2 separate regions of the Homo sapiens genome follow, and region 1 is linked to region 2. The links are contacts of gene promoters, found by promoter capture Hi-C in blood cells and fetal thymus (Javierre and others, 2016). All regions are on one chromosome and are shown on one strand. The core of a region is centred on a gene start or on the middle of the fragment in contact, and the rest is flanking DNA. Distances in the headings are between cores, read along the strand shown.

Region 1 (7,169 bases), core at 3,873-6,372, 450 kb after region 2:
GGAACTAAGGAACTGTATTTTTGCACAGTGATATATCTTCAACATATTATGTCTCAAATGTAGGAAGTATGTATAATACATTAAACACATTAGGGAAAGATTTACATTTTTTAAATACTGTTTTTACTTTCTCACTTAAATAAGAACATTTCAGGTATTTGGAAAACCTACATTATCCAACAATGATTATTAACAGTGGTATCACTGTCTTATTTGTTGAATTCCAAGTCATGCTTTTTTTTCTTTTAAATAGAATCCTCACTATTAAATGATCCTCTCCTTTCATTCTCTATTCTTTTTAAGTTTCCTCAAGAAATGGTTTTATTTTCTTGGCTTTGGAATGATTAGCAGGGTGTGGTGAAATTGTTGATTTACGTGTTTTTGAAACTGAATTTATTAAAACACAATCTCTGAACCTTCTTAGGATCGACACACAGTCAGGAAACCAGAAACAACAGCATCTTTGTGGCCCCTCAGAATAAAAAAGTATATGTATTGATTAAGAAGATAGCATGTTGGCCTGAGTACAGTGGCTCACGCCTGTAATCCCAACACTTTGGGAGGCTTAGGCAGGCGGATCACTTGAGGTGAGGAATTCAAGACCAGCCTAGGCAACATAGCGAGACCCTGTCTCTACAGAAAATACAAAAAAATTAAACCAGGCATTATGGCATGCACCTGTGGTTTCAGCCTCACGGGGCCCTAATGCAGGAGGATCACTTGAGCCCAGGAGGTCGAGACTGCCGTGAGTCATGATCGCACCACTGCACTCCAGCCTGGGTGATGCAGTGAGATCCCGTCTCAGAAAGAAAAAAAAAAAAGAAGATAGTATGTTGAAAAATCCTGATGATTTACCTGTTTACCCTATAAAGGTATACTTTCATGATCTAAAGTTGACAATAATGACAATAATATGTGTCATTTCAGGGCCATTGATTGTTTTAATTACCTTCTCTTTATGAAAAATATGACCAGTTAATTATAGCTCCAAATACCCCACACCAGACCCACAACAACACAGATGCACACGGGTGCACACACATACACACACACAGGCACATATTTCCCCCGTCTAGTTCTGTATTCTACTGTTAAGTCCTTATTGAGAATACTTAAAATACTCACTGTGAAGAGTGCTTTGGAAAATCTTAAATGGATAATCATAAAGGGATATTGTTTTCAGGGTGTAGCTTCCAATAGAAAAAATTGGGGGTTTGGTATTTCAATGATACTTTGGGTGTATAATCGGGAGAGGCCCCTTTATGATAGGGTTCCCATAGTTCCTGTAAAAACAAGGGTAGTGATGAATCTATTTGCCTCTCTTATAAATAACTGCTCGTTTTTCTTTCTGTTTTTCTCCTTGAAGACATGACAATGGATGAAGTCCGAGAATTTGAACGAGCCACTCAGGAAGCCACCAACAAGAAAATCGGCATTTTCCCACCTGCAATTTCTATCTCCAGCATCCCCCTGCTGCCTTCTTCCGTCCGCAGTGCGCCTTCTAGTGCTCCATCCACCCCTCTCTCCACAGACGCACCCGAATTTCTGTCCGTTCCCAAAGATCGGCCCCGGAAAAAGTCTGCCCCAGAAACTCTCACACTTCCAGACCCTGAGAAAAAAGCCACCCTGAATTTACCCGGCATGCACTCTTCAGATAAGCCATGTCGGCCCAAATCTGAGTAACTTTATATAAATATCTCATGGGGTTTTATATTTTCATTTGTTGTTGTTGTTTTTTTTTAAGAATCTTCTGATAGAGAAAAAGACTGCTTTGTCACTCAAACATGTTCCTTCGACCTTTCAGTGTGCATGTGACTCAGTAACTTCACATAGAATATGATTCCCTAAGTATGCTACACAGCATCATATTAGATGTAAGATGTAAGACTTGCAAAGGACAGAAGGAATCTTCTGTAACCACATAGCTGTATGCCAGAGAGGAAGCCTTGTTATTGGGCATTTGATGAGGTTTGGCATGGACTTCAAGGATAAATGAATGAAAACTTTGCACCACTTTTGTTACAAGGTACGGTAGAAAATAGTGAAGTCAGTTTCCTCTCATCAAATCTAAAATTCTCCAAAATACTCTCAGGCATAACATACTTAGCTGTTAAATTTTGAACTGCTAATTACTAATACTTGAATACCAATAGTTACTGAGATTCCTATTTTGTGGTTAGTCTGACTCAGGATTTGGAGCCTAATTAACTCTAAACTTTTGAAAATTTTAATCATCAAGCTATAGAGGCTCCAAGTGCAATTAATAATAACTCATTTATACCTTCCACAGAATTTAATAAAGATTCTACTTGTTTCTGTCTTTTAATAACTTTCCCCTTTTGTGCCCTTGTGGCCTCAGAAATCCTTAAGAATTGCATGGATGAATGTGACCATAACTGATTTTGGAATGGTTCAGTTTAGGAACCAAGAGGCCCAGGTGAGGCAACATCTTTTTTCTCTACAGGTACCAACAAACCTTGACTTGTCAGCTTCCATCATCAATTAAGATTCTCAGAATTTGCAATTAATTGAATAGAATTCATTTACTATCTGCCCACTCAAAGAAGTACAAGGGTAGAGTAAGCTAACTGGGCTTTAACATGGTCAGAATGTCTGGTGCATGAACTATAAAAAAGAGAACTGTCTCCCATCCCCTTCCTTGTTTTACTCTTAGTAACATCCAGAATTCCCTGGAACAGATTGCCTACCACCAGACCTTAGAAAAGACTGTCATTCTCTTGCTCCTTACTTGAAATACAAATATTGGGAATGTCACAGACATCAAGCAACTACTGTCAAGTGGGAGGAGAGAATGAGCAGAATTGCTGACTCCTATTTGTAGAGTGAAAAGGAGGAGTGATAATAGATGCCCTTCTGTCTAGCTTTCCTTTCTTCAACTAGTGGTAATGCAAGATTAGAATCAAGGTTGACAGGAGGCAAGGTCACTCACTGAAGTGACAGAAAGACAATTCTCCTTTGCTCCAAAGAGAGAAATCTGTCACCTTTGCACCTCACTGCCTTTAAACACAGACGGGAGGGCAGGCCAAATCTCAGCATTGACTTTTGTCCTCCAAGAGAGGAAGAGAAGAAGTAATTGGGCAACTTGGAGGCCCACGCCCCAGCTAGCCTTCCTGATCGTAACCTCCAACCTCAGGAAAGGGACCTTCCCAAAACACAGATCCCAAAGGAAACAAAATAGACCAAGGAGCATAATCTGCTTCTCTCACACAGCCTCTCTGCCAGTGGACCCTGCCTGCTTCCCTCTCAGTGCTCAGCACTCTGTGTAGTGTCTTTCAGGTTGATACACTCTCCCAAGGTGCAGGCGCTGGCCCCATGAGCCCAGCACCAAAGTTTTCTAAGTCATAGGTCAGACTGTCAAGATCATTTCTTTATCTATAGGTTGATATTTAGCTTAAAAAAAAAGAATAAACCTAGAACTCAAAGGAAACCTGTTGCAAATAGCTTAGATCAACAGTGTATCTCTTCCCTAAGAATGATAGTATCTTAGTAAGACACCTTCTATGCATGGTATGGAAGCATGATTTTTGCTTGTGGGAAAACCTAATATTTTATCAGACCCCTCGGACTTCTCAATCCCTCCCTCTCCACACAGTAGTACTTAATGAAAATGTTTTGCTTTAGAGAGCAAAATGCTACTTTCAGAAGACACTGAAATAGTATATGTATTTGCTTACCATTTGCAAGCTAAAATCAAGGTGGGATGGGGTCATTATTTTCACATAGAATGTATTTATTTTGTGCAGGCTGTTAAACACATCTGGCACCTAGTTTTTCCATTAAGAGCATTGCTATTTTCCCTTTTTATAAAGTAGCTTCTGCTGTCAAGGTTAACAATTCTATATGCTTTAGGAAGCTAAGTTCTAATTTCCTTTTGTGAGTTTCATTTCTTTTATAACCAGTATGTTACCACAGACATCAGTTGCAAAGCTACGATGATAGTGTGATTCTTAGCCGAAAAAAAAGCGTGTGCTCTTAAAGTATGTTCAGTTTTTCTGTCTACATATGCTTTGTGTGAGTTAAAAAGGGGGTGGGTGGTGTAAATATTCCTTTAGCTGCTTTGCATATTTAACCCAGTCATCAAAAGGCATAAATGACTTCAATATTTTATATATCTTGGTTTTCAAGTATCATTTCACATTCTCTATACATGACTTTGTTATTGTGGAATACAAGCCTGCAATGGATGTATATATACAGAACATTAATAATTCTTAGAAGGATGGAAGCCAAATGGCTGCATGATGGAAATTAGAAGAAAAAAAAAGCAGAAACTTGAATTTGCTAAGCATGTTTGGGGGGAAATAGAATCCTTAACTCAGTGCCTCTGTCTGCGATATGGAAACCTTCAACTTTGTTCACCAAAATTGTATTATACCTGTGTATATATATATATATATATATATATAAATATAAATATAGTATAGTGAATCAGACACCATCAGTTTTAAGTCTCTGGTAGCCAAACTTAAATAAATAATCCATAGAATATCACATACGTTCACTCCATCTTCATCTCTGAAGTTAGTGGAGACCATCAAAATGACTGTACATTTCATAACTCTGGGAAGATTTCAAATGTGAAGTGCCCCTGTGCATTTTCTTGGCCATAGCACGGCATTCTTGCTTTAGCTGTGCTTTCCTGGGATGAGAAGATCTTGGTGTATTTAACACATAAGCTTTGTTAGAAATCACCTCTGAAGATCATTTCATTTTCTCACTTTGGGTTGTTGCAAGACAAAGCAAAGGAAAAGGAACACAATGAAGGAGGCCGTGACATTTTTAGTTGCCACCGTTGTAACTCAAACAATATGGGTTTGTTGGTGAACTGATTTATCAAGGCTTCTGTTACGGTTTTGCATCTGTGTGTGAGGAAAATTTTAATTTATTTGGAAGTATTTATTAGCCATGTTGTTGGTCCTGAAAATAAATCTCTAAGTAGCACAGTTGTGGGTATATTATGCAGACACTTACCACAATACCTGCAAAAGTAACTGTGGTTTTCTTTCAAGACACTGTAATAAACAGTGAACTAAGAGAATAGATTCTGATACATCTCGATAAATCATTCTCTGCAAAAGTTTCAGGGCTAATGTATTTATGTGTATTTTTAAATTCTACTTTCTTTGGCATCTCTTCATGGCTCAGCGACAACAAAGTAATAGGTCATTGGCTGGCTTACGTCGATAGGAATTTTACTCTTAAGAAGGGCCAGTGTATAGCTGACTCTACATATAATGTGTAATCAGATAATCCAATAGAGAGGAATTGTCCAAATAGTTTTAGTACCTTTCTGATCATCTGACTCAGTAGGCTAGGAGACAATCTGTCATCTGAGCCATAGTTCTTGAGATTTAAAAAGTCTGTCCAGTGACTGCAATCTGATTATGAATAAACTATTTTAACTATTCATTCTTGCTGAAACTGAAGTGTACACAATAGCACACTGTTGGCATGCTGAGGCAAAACATTGGGTTCTTTTGTGTTCTACCTTCAAAACAATCTGTTTGCATTTGAAATATAAGTGTTTAAGCTTTTTAGGAGTTAGTGTAATAAGAGAATGTGAATATGTTGGGAAATTTTCAGATGCCATTAATAATTGTAATTTTGTTGTTAAATTAACAAGGACTTTAGGATAAGCCTCTTGATGTTTTTTGCTTTAAATTGAAAGCATGTCTGTCAAATTGCAAGTCTCCCTTCAGTTTCTATATATCACCCAGGAGAGGGTCTCTGAGTTGGTGTTGTACCTGTACCACTCACATGTAGCTCAAGTGTAATTTGTAGTGTTTACATTCAAGCTGGGATCTTGATTGGTTAAATTAATCCACATACCACTGCCACTGCTGAAGGACCAGGTGTTGGAATACACAGCATTACAGACTATAAGCAAAGCAAACAAAAGTTGATCCTTACATATGCCATCCTTCTGTGTCATTTTGTGGCTGTTCTGTGTTTTTCTTCCTAGTTATTTATTATTGTTAATAACTTACTTTTTCTTACATTCTGTTGTAAATAAAATACAAAGCAATCTTCTTTGCAAGCGTAGCTTCCTCTCTCTCTCTCTCGCTCGCCCTCTCTCTCTCTCTCTCTCTCTCCTCTTTAGCTATTCTCGAGGGAATGTTAGTAATTGTTCACCTGTGGGTTGATGGGCTTGCTTCTTTTCCTCTATGGATTTTTTTACCCATCCCCATACCACTGCCACTGCTGAAGGACCAGGTGTTGGAATACACAGCATTACAGACTATAAGCAAAGCAAACAAAAGTTGATCCTCACAGATGCCATCCTTCTGTGTCATTGTGTGGCCTTGCCTGCTAGTAGGCATATGGCACCTTCAGGACCCTTGGTAGGAAAAGTCTGAGTGTCTGCACTAATTATCCAGCCAAAAATTACACAAGGTGGCCAGCCAGGCCAACATGGCGAAACACCATCTCTACTGAAAATACAAAAATTTCCCAGCCGTGGTGGCACACGCCTGTAGTCGCAGCTACTCAGGAGGCTGAGGAATGAGAATCACTTGAACCCTGGAGGTGGAGGCTTCAGTGAGCTAAGATCACGCCACTGCTGTCCACTCTGGGTGTGAAAGAGCAAGAGCCTGTCTCAAAAAGACAAAACAAAACAAAAAAACCCTGGCTGAGGCCGGGCGCAGTGGCTCACACCTGTAATCTCAGCACTTTGGGAAGCCGAGGCGGGCAGATCACGAGGTCAGGAGATCGAGACCATCCTGGCTAACACGGTGAAACCCCGTCTCTACTAAAAGTACAAAAAATTAGCCGGGCGCGGTGGCGGTCGCCTGTAGTCCTAGCTACTCGGGAGGCTGAGGCAGGAGAATGGCGTGAACCCGGGAGGCGGAGCTTGCAGTGAGCCGAGGTCACATCACTGCACTCCAGTGACAGAGCGAGACTCCGTCTCAAAAAAAAAAAAACCCGAGGTGAATCTGTAACCCAGTGGGATACTCATGCATCCGTCCACCAGGTGCTTGGTTCCCTCGCCTCGAATGTGAAGCTATCCACCCTGAGGGAATCTGTAGGAACACCATCCCAGTGGTGTTCCTAGATTCTCTCCACTGAAGGTTGGGCCAGTTTTTAAGGTGAGCTGAAATCACTCTGATGTGGTTTCTCCATCTCAGGTAGCTCCTGTACACAAAAGGGTT
Region 2 (7,127 bases), core at 4,498-6,997:
TGGGTATCACCCAAATAGCCCATCAGAGCTCTTTATAATTTCTGAAAGACAAAGAAGAAAGTTTTTTTAATACATAGTAGAAAACACCATTCACCAAGATATCAGTTCCAAAGCATTTGTATCCAATATTCCCAGCATATGGTCTTTTGGTCCACACTAGTTCAATAAAATGTAGCATGACCAGCACTAGACCAAGAGTCTTGAGATAAGCCTCCAAAGATTAAAAACAAGCTTGGTTTAATGTTGCTACTACTGAGCTGTGTGACCTTGAGCAACTCATTTAATTTCTTCAGGCCTATATTTCCTTATCTGGAAAATAAGTCACTTAGACTAGCTAGAGAAAGAAGAGCACAGGCTTTCCAGGAAGAACACCAGCTCCACTACTTTACTGGTCTCGTGACGTTACATTAGTTGAGTCACACTTAAGCCTGAATTTCTTCCTTTGTAAAATGGAAATAACTATCTCGTGAGTTGCTATGAGAATTAAAGGAGATGATGAGTTATAAAAAGCCTATAGTAAATATACTGTGCAGCTTATCCTAAAATTCAACAGATGGTAATTCATTACTACCATTAACCCCCACCAGCCCTAACATTACATGAATTCAATTCATGCATATTTCTTTTAAAAGATCAACAAATCAAAACTTTACCAACCTGACTAAAGAACTAACTGTTTTCATGTTTCACAATTCAAATTACAGTTATCTTAAGCTGATGGTAGTTTATCATTATTACTTATCACAGAAAATAAGAACAGAATAGTCCCTGCACAACATCCAAACTCTGGTTCAATGACCATGCCTTTTCTGACTTCTCACTCTACTTCCACACTGCCAGAATATCTCAGGAATAGAGAGGTCTTCCAAAAGCTAAATGACACCCAGCTGTTTGCCAGATTCAGCTCAAGGGAGCAGGACTAGAGACAGAAGAAGAACAGAGGCTTTTCTTTTTTTTAACCTTTTTTACTTTACATAAGTACTGCTCAAATTTGTTTACCATAAGCATACAGGAGTTTTGCATAAAAGTAAATAATTTTTTAAAACTGTATTAGTTAAACACGTTGCCTACTGACAGGAAGCTCGCATTATAGGACATTTTCATCACAACAAAGATAATTTCTGCAGAAGGAAGCAAAAAGGCAAATTCAGATGTGACAAGAACACCTAAAATATAGCACAGAAATGACAAAAATCACAAACATTCACACTTCAGAATAGTTCAGTCAACAAAGATGCCATGCATTCTTTGAAGAACCTGACGATGAATCAAGTTCTTTTTTGTTCAAAGACAAGATATATGTATACACTCTGCTTTACCAAACAACTTCCTGCTCTTACTTGGAGAAACTGACCCAGTACAATTCACAAAAGTAAACAAGTTGGTATGACTGTTGGTATTAGTTGAAAAACTTTCCATTTCTTTTGAATAATTAAAAGTTGACCAAAATAGTTATTACATGTATATATAAATAAAATTCTTCCTGTTACATCTACAGTGGTCTTTTAAAAAGAGGAATATTCACTTCTAACAGATTCAAGATTACTGAAAACTATTATCCCAGCCACCCTCAAAGCAATAAACCATCATGTTATATGCTGCTTCTAGCCAATGCTACAGAAGTAACCCTGACTGCACTCATCAACTGAAATGAATGGTAAGATAGTATGGCATACTCTCCACTTGTATCACTTTTCTTCTAGAAAACATTTCAAAACATTACTTAGAAATCCAATTACATCTGCATGTATATTCACCTAAGTTTATGAAAATTAAACCTAAAAATTTGCTTATAATTTTTTAAGTAGTTCCTCCCCATCTCTTGGATAACTGTTGTTGATACACCTGGCCCGAAATCTTCTATACATTTGAAACAACAGGCAAAGGTCCTTATTTCTTGTATGGGGCCTGTATTTGGATCTTAGGGTCTCTGACAGACAATTATAGACTAATCTACATTCAATATTAATGCCAAGCCTACTGCTTAAATAGAGAACACATGCATCTGTAAGATCTGGGCTACTTACTTGTAGGTCCCTCTGCACTATTCTTAGCCTTTCATGAATATGCTGTAGATTTTTTAATTACACGAGGCCCTTTGCAAGTAAAAATGACTTTTCCTGTTGTTTTGGCATCACTCCTCTTCCAGTGAAAACTGGACAGTCTATAAATATATACCAACTTTAAGACAATGCATTTTAATATCTATGGCATTAGAAAATAAAACTTCTTGTTAACAAATGCAATAATCAAGTTTACCAGCTAATAGAAAGGTACTTACTCCCAAAAACTACAGCCTTACCTAAAAATAGTGTCCTAGCTTCCCAGCCAAAAGGACAGACTAAAAAAGCTCTGTCTTTATTCAGCTCAGAGACACAGACTTCTACCTCACCACAACCTTCAATACTATGGCATTTCCCATTTTAGAATACTTTGTGTAACAAGTTGTTCAGTGGCCAACCACTAACTTCGCTTTGAAATGAATACTAACACTTCACAGAGTCTACATGTGTGAGAACTGTGGAAAATGTCTTGACACAATTCAGGTCAAACAACACTAGCCACACAAGATTACCTACTTCTAAGTATTCCATTTTAGACTACAAACAAACATCTCCACAGTCAAAAAGCAGACCACTGGCTCCTTTCCACAAAATTATCTGTAGGCTTCAAGAAAAAAGATAAGGCCAGGCATGGTGGCTCACGCTTGTAATCCCAGCACTTTGGGAGGCCAAGGCGGGCAGATCACCTGAGGTCAGGAGCTCGAGACCAGCCTGACCAACATGGTGAAACCCTCTCTCTACTAAAAATACAAAATTAGCCGGGTGTGGTGGCGTAAGCCTGTAATCCCTACTCGGGAAGCTGAGGCAGGAGAATTGCTTGAACCTGGAAGGTAGAGGTTGCAGTGAGCTGAGATCGCGTCATTGCACTCCAGCCTGGGCAACAAGAGTGAAACTCTGTCTCAAAAAAAAAAAAAAAGAAAAAAAATCTATCTATCTATATACATAGATACACACATATATACACATATATACATATATACACACATATCTATACACACATATATGTATATATACACACATATATGTATATATACACACATATATGTATATATACACACATATATGTATATATACACACATATATAAAGTTCAAATTGGGAGGTCTAAGGCAGGAATATGCCTCCATCTGCAAAATAAAAATAAATTTAAAAATCCATATTTGCTCTGCCAAAAATAAAAATTATATGAAATAAACATAAGCACTGCTGAGTTTCAAACACAAGAAAATGCAGTATGTGCACTTACAAAAGAATCTTGGTTTATGTCCACCTTCCTTTCCTAAGTTTTTATTTTTTTAAGGCAAAATGTCAATTACATGCCTCAATCTAGAAAAAAAAAAAAGGATAGCTTATTCTTCTTAAACAGATGTTGTGATAGACACGAAAAATTTGTGAGAGGATTTCAAAATCCAGAGGCCCAGATGTGTGGAGAAACAACAAAAAAAAAACTACAGTAACCAATCGACCACAATTACTTATTATTTTTCTAAAAAAAAACTTAGTAAAACATTTTAAGTTGAGAAAACTCGTGAAAAATGTAAAAGTAGCAAACTTCTCTTCCTCTCTATAGCACAGAAAACTATTCACTAACACTGTATCAATAATATCCTTTAAATCCAAAGCATTACAAATTAGATTAAATAAAGCACTTTGAATAAATTCACACACCGTGTGTGATCAGGACATAATGACAAACTAGTCTATTTCCTAATAAGCTAAACAGATCTCAACACTATCATCTTTATTTCAAAATAATTATTAAAGAGAAAAGTACTACTCCATTTTTCAGAAAATAAAAGCAGGAGTGATTGACCTGCCTAATTCTTTCTAACGGAAAGGGTATACTTTACGAGTCCCACAAACCAGGTACACACAAAATCCATATACATAATCACCGGGACTAAACGTACAGTAGGTGATAGACACCAAAACACAAATAAAATTAAGACATCCAAGTAAAGTTACGCAAGAAAATTTGAATAGGCAAACTATAATTATCCCTGGTGAAGATACTGATCAAGAATAGCTGCAAGTAACATTTGGCTCTTAGTTAAGTACCACTATGTTTGAGTATGTTGGAGCAACTGAAAAGATTGGTACATTCAACATATTTTTCCTTTCTAAATCTAGCCCTGCCCATAGACCCACTGACTGAGTGATACATTTGGAAAACAAAGATGGCCCCATCAAATTACTCAGTTTCAGCCTTACTCTTACCAGTTGATTAAAATAAAGAAGGAAAAAAAGGAAATCATTTTTAACTGCAGTCTCACCTTACACATCTCACCAGCACTGTAGTTCATTAGTGATCCATTACTTCATCCAAATCCTGAGGCAAATAGAAAAGATGTTTCCATACAACACCAGTAACAGACATTATCAGTAGCAAACATTTTATCAGCCTGAAGTGAAAGGGCATCTACATTTAAAATGGAAAAAGTTACAAAAATGGTACAGTGTGCAGCTTTGCAAATGAGTCTGGTTTTTGACCTTAAAACATTTCCTTTCAGTAAGGTAAAAGAATAGATTATACAATGCTCTTAAAACTCAAAAACATAATAAAATCATCTTTTTCAACACAGACTGACCTTACTTTCAAAAACATAAAGAAATGAAGGAGAGGAAATTTCATTAATATGAGTTTAAGAGAGAGCAAAATTAAGAACAAACTAGGCAAGACAGACAACTCCTCCCTCCTTCCCCCGCTCCAGGAATCCACTGTCTCTGAAGTTACACTTTTTATTATATTAATGATTTGCCTGAGAAGTGTTAAGTTGTGAGGGAGAAGGAATGACAATTTTTGAACTGCAAACAAAACCTGAGGATCCCGATCCAAGAACAATCAGAGGACCCTGGCTTCCAGCCCTGTCTGAAGATTTCTCAGCAAAGGCGAGGGTGCAGAAGGCTCCAATAATTTAGGGGAGAGGAATCGAAGTTCCCTAGGTAAGACTGCAGTCTGTGAGCCCTTGAAAAGGGTACTGGAGTACTCTCAAGGAATCTCCAGGAAAAGAGAGCCTATCTTTATTTTTGTTGATGTGCTTGTGGGCCAAAGAGCATTTCCGAGGAGGGGGCGGGGAAAGGGGGGAAGAAAGTGAATCTCGGGCCGAGAGCCCTCCGCGGGGGAGGGAGGGGGCGCACGCCTGACCCACTTTTCCCCACGCCCCCGCTCCAGCCCCCACCCCACCCGGTGGAAGTCCGAGGCCTGAGGGGGGGCATCGAGCGGGGCGTGGGAGGCCCGCACGCTCCCCACCCCCAGCCGCGACCCGGAGGAGGGGAACGTGCCGGGAGGCTCGAGTCCCCCTCCCAGAGTGCTCTGGGCCGGAGAAACCTCCCGCAGGCTCCCGGGCCAGGCGTGCAAGGCCCCCTCTCCTGCCAGGGCCCAGGACGCTGCGGGCCCCAGCGGAGGGGAAGGGGACTAAGTAGGGGAAGAAGCTGTAAACAGCCCCAGCGTCCGGGCCTCGCCTCGAAGAGCCGCGCTTCCCAGGCCCAGCCGCGGGCCGCCCAGGCCCCCAGCCTGCCCCGGGGCCGCCGCGCCCGGGGTCCGGGACACCGGAGGGGAGTCGGGTCCCCTCCCCGGAGAGCTCCGGGAGCTCGCGGAGCGGCCCCAGGAGCAGAGAAGGGGGAAGTCAGGACTTACCTGTCATTACTTTCTACGCCATCTTGGATCCACTTGTCAACGTCCCCACAAAGCATTATGGGTAAGAAAGAGCCTTTAAAGTGACTCCCCCCGGCCCCCGACTCCCGCCTCCCGCCGCCGGCGCCGCCCCCTCCGGCCGCGCCTCCCGCCCGGAAAGTTGCCCCGGGTGGACTGCCGACCCCGGCGCCCGCAGCTGGCCCCTTCCCCTCCCCCGGGCTGACGGCATTGAAAATTCACCCGCATTTTTAAAACGTGGCTTTGGGGTTTTCTCCCTTTCTCCTGCCCCGGCCTCCCTGCCCCCACGCCCGGTCCTCTCGCCTCGCCGCGTTCCTGCCCGGGCAGACGCCCCGCGTCTGCATTGAATCAACCCGAGGTTTCCTTGCCGCCCGCGGCGCGGCGCGGAGCTGCTCGCGGATTTATTTGTGCGCGTGGATGTGAGCGTTTCTGCTCCTGCGGCCGCGCTTCCAGGAAGCCCGCGAGCGGCCGGGGTCGCCTTCAGAGGCCGCGCAGACCAGCTCCGCACCCGCCGCCCGGAGAGGTGCCTCTGCCCTGGGAAACCGCCCCGGGGCCGTTGGGCTCCGGGAACTGGGAGGACGCCGTGTCCCCGAGTCCACCAGCGTCGAAGCACGATTTAAAAAAAAAAATTGAGCCAAATGCAACTTTTTACCCCTTGTTTACTCTGTGTCCCGCGGTCTCCTCCTCCGGGCGGGTAACGTGATCCGCGACCCTCTAGGTGGGGACCCCTCCCCTAGGAATGTGGCTCCAGGCTCCGCGGAGCCACCCTGGGAGCGTCCGGGCTGCGGACTGTGACTCCGGGGCAGGTAATCCGGGGCGCCGGCTGCGGGCTCCGGGCGGGGCGGGGCGCGGAGGCAGCCAGGGCTCGGGGGAGGGTCCCGGGCGGAAAGCAGGGTGCGCCAGTCCGGGTCCACCTGGCGGGTCGGGGGAGAACCGCGGGCGCCGCTGCAGCTCGGGAGGCTGGAGGTGGGGACGCCCGGCGTCTCCGGGCTGCGACCCGCTGCGCTGGAAAGTGTGGGGCGCCTTGGCGCGGGCTGAGGTCTCTGACCCGGGCGAGTACCCCCAGCCCGCCGGCCACACTGCTGCCGGGCATCCTCTCCCCGCGACACCACGCCCGCTTTCGGCTGCGCGGGGCGAGCAGCGTACTGACCCCGGCGTCCAGCCGCCCAGGTCCCCCCAGCAACGGAGGCCCCTTGGTCAGCCTCCTCCCGCGCTCTCCGCAGAGCCTCTGGTCCCTGCTTTGCTGTCTTTGGAGGCCTGCTCCAGTTGCTTTTTTTTTTTTCCAAGCAAGTTTTTACAACAAGGAGATACCCAAAAGAAAATTCTCCAAGACAGGAATGCTTGCGAATTGTATTCGGTACAAAATGCTGTTGAACGGCTCTACCTTTAGAAGACCGCAGAAGCACTGGCATT

What was found. The method cuts DNA at HindIII sites, captures the fragments that hold promoters and counts their contacts. A CHiCAGO score of 5 or more calls a contact.
Region 1: a fragment that was not itself captured here is called in contact with the fragment with the promoter of HELZ in region 2 in 1 of 17 cell types (total B cells); the score reaches 5.2 in total B cells.

What each region holds. Positions count from the first base shown.
Region 1 is chr17:67,691,206-67,698,374 of GRCh38, forward strand. PITPNC1 (phosphatidylinositol transfer protein cytoplasmic 1) reads left to right here. Exons shown (of 9, transcript NM_012417.4): 9 at 1,367-6,051. The coding sequence ends at 1,683. All of the region lies in intron 2 of LOC101928045 (a long non-coding RNA gene), which reads right to left. Among named protein-coding and RNA genes, the nearest start is that of NOL11, 23 kb to the right of the region's middle. The HindIII fragment of the contact is 854 bases long and covers 4,696-5,549 here.
Region 2 is chr17:67,239,449-67,246,575 of GRCh38, forward strand. HELZ (helicase with zinc finger) reads right to left here and starts at 5,748. Exons shown (of 33, transcript NM_014877.4): 1 at 5,700-5,748; 2 at 4,336-4,391; 3 at 1-41. It overlaps HELZ-AS1 (HELZ antisense RNA 1), which reads left to right and starts at 5,328. Exons shown (of 4, transcript NR_136398.1): 1 at 5,328-5,760. RefSeq lists enhancers at 4,972-5,959, 5,960-6,946 and silencers at 5,276-5,325, 5,426-5,915, 6,466-6,555, 6,566-6,765. The HindIII fragment of the contact is 7,952 bases long and covers 230-7,127 here.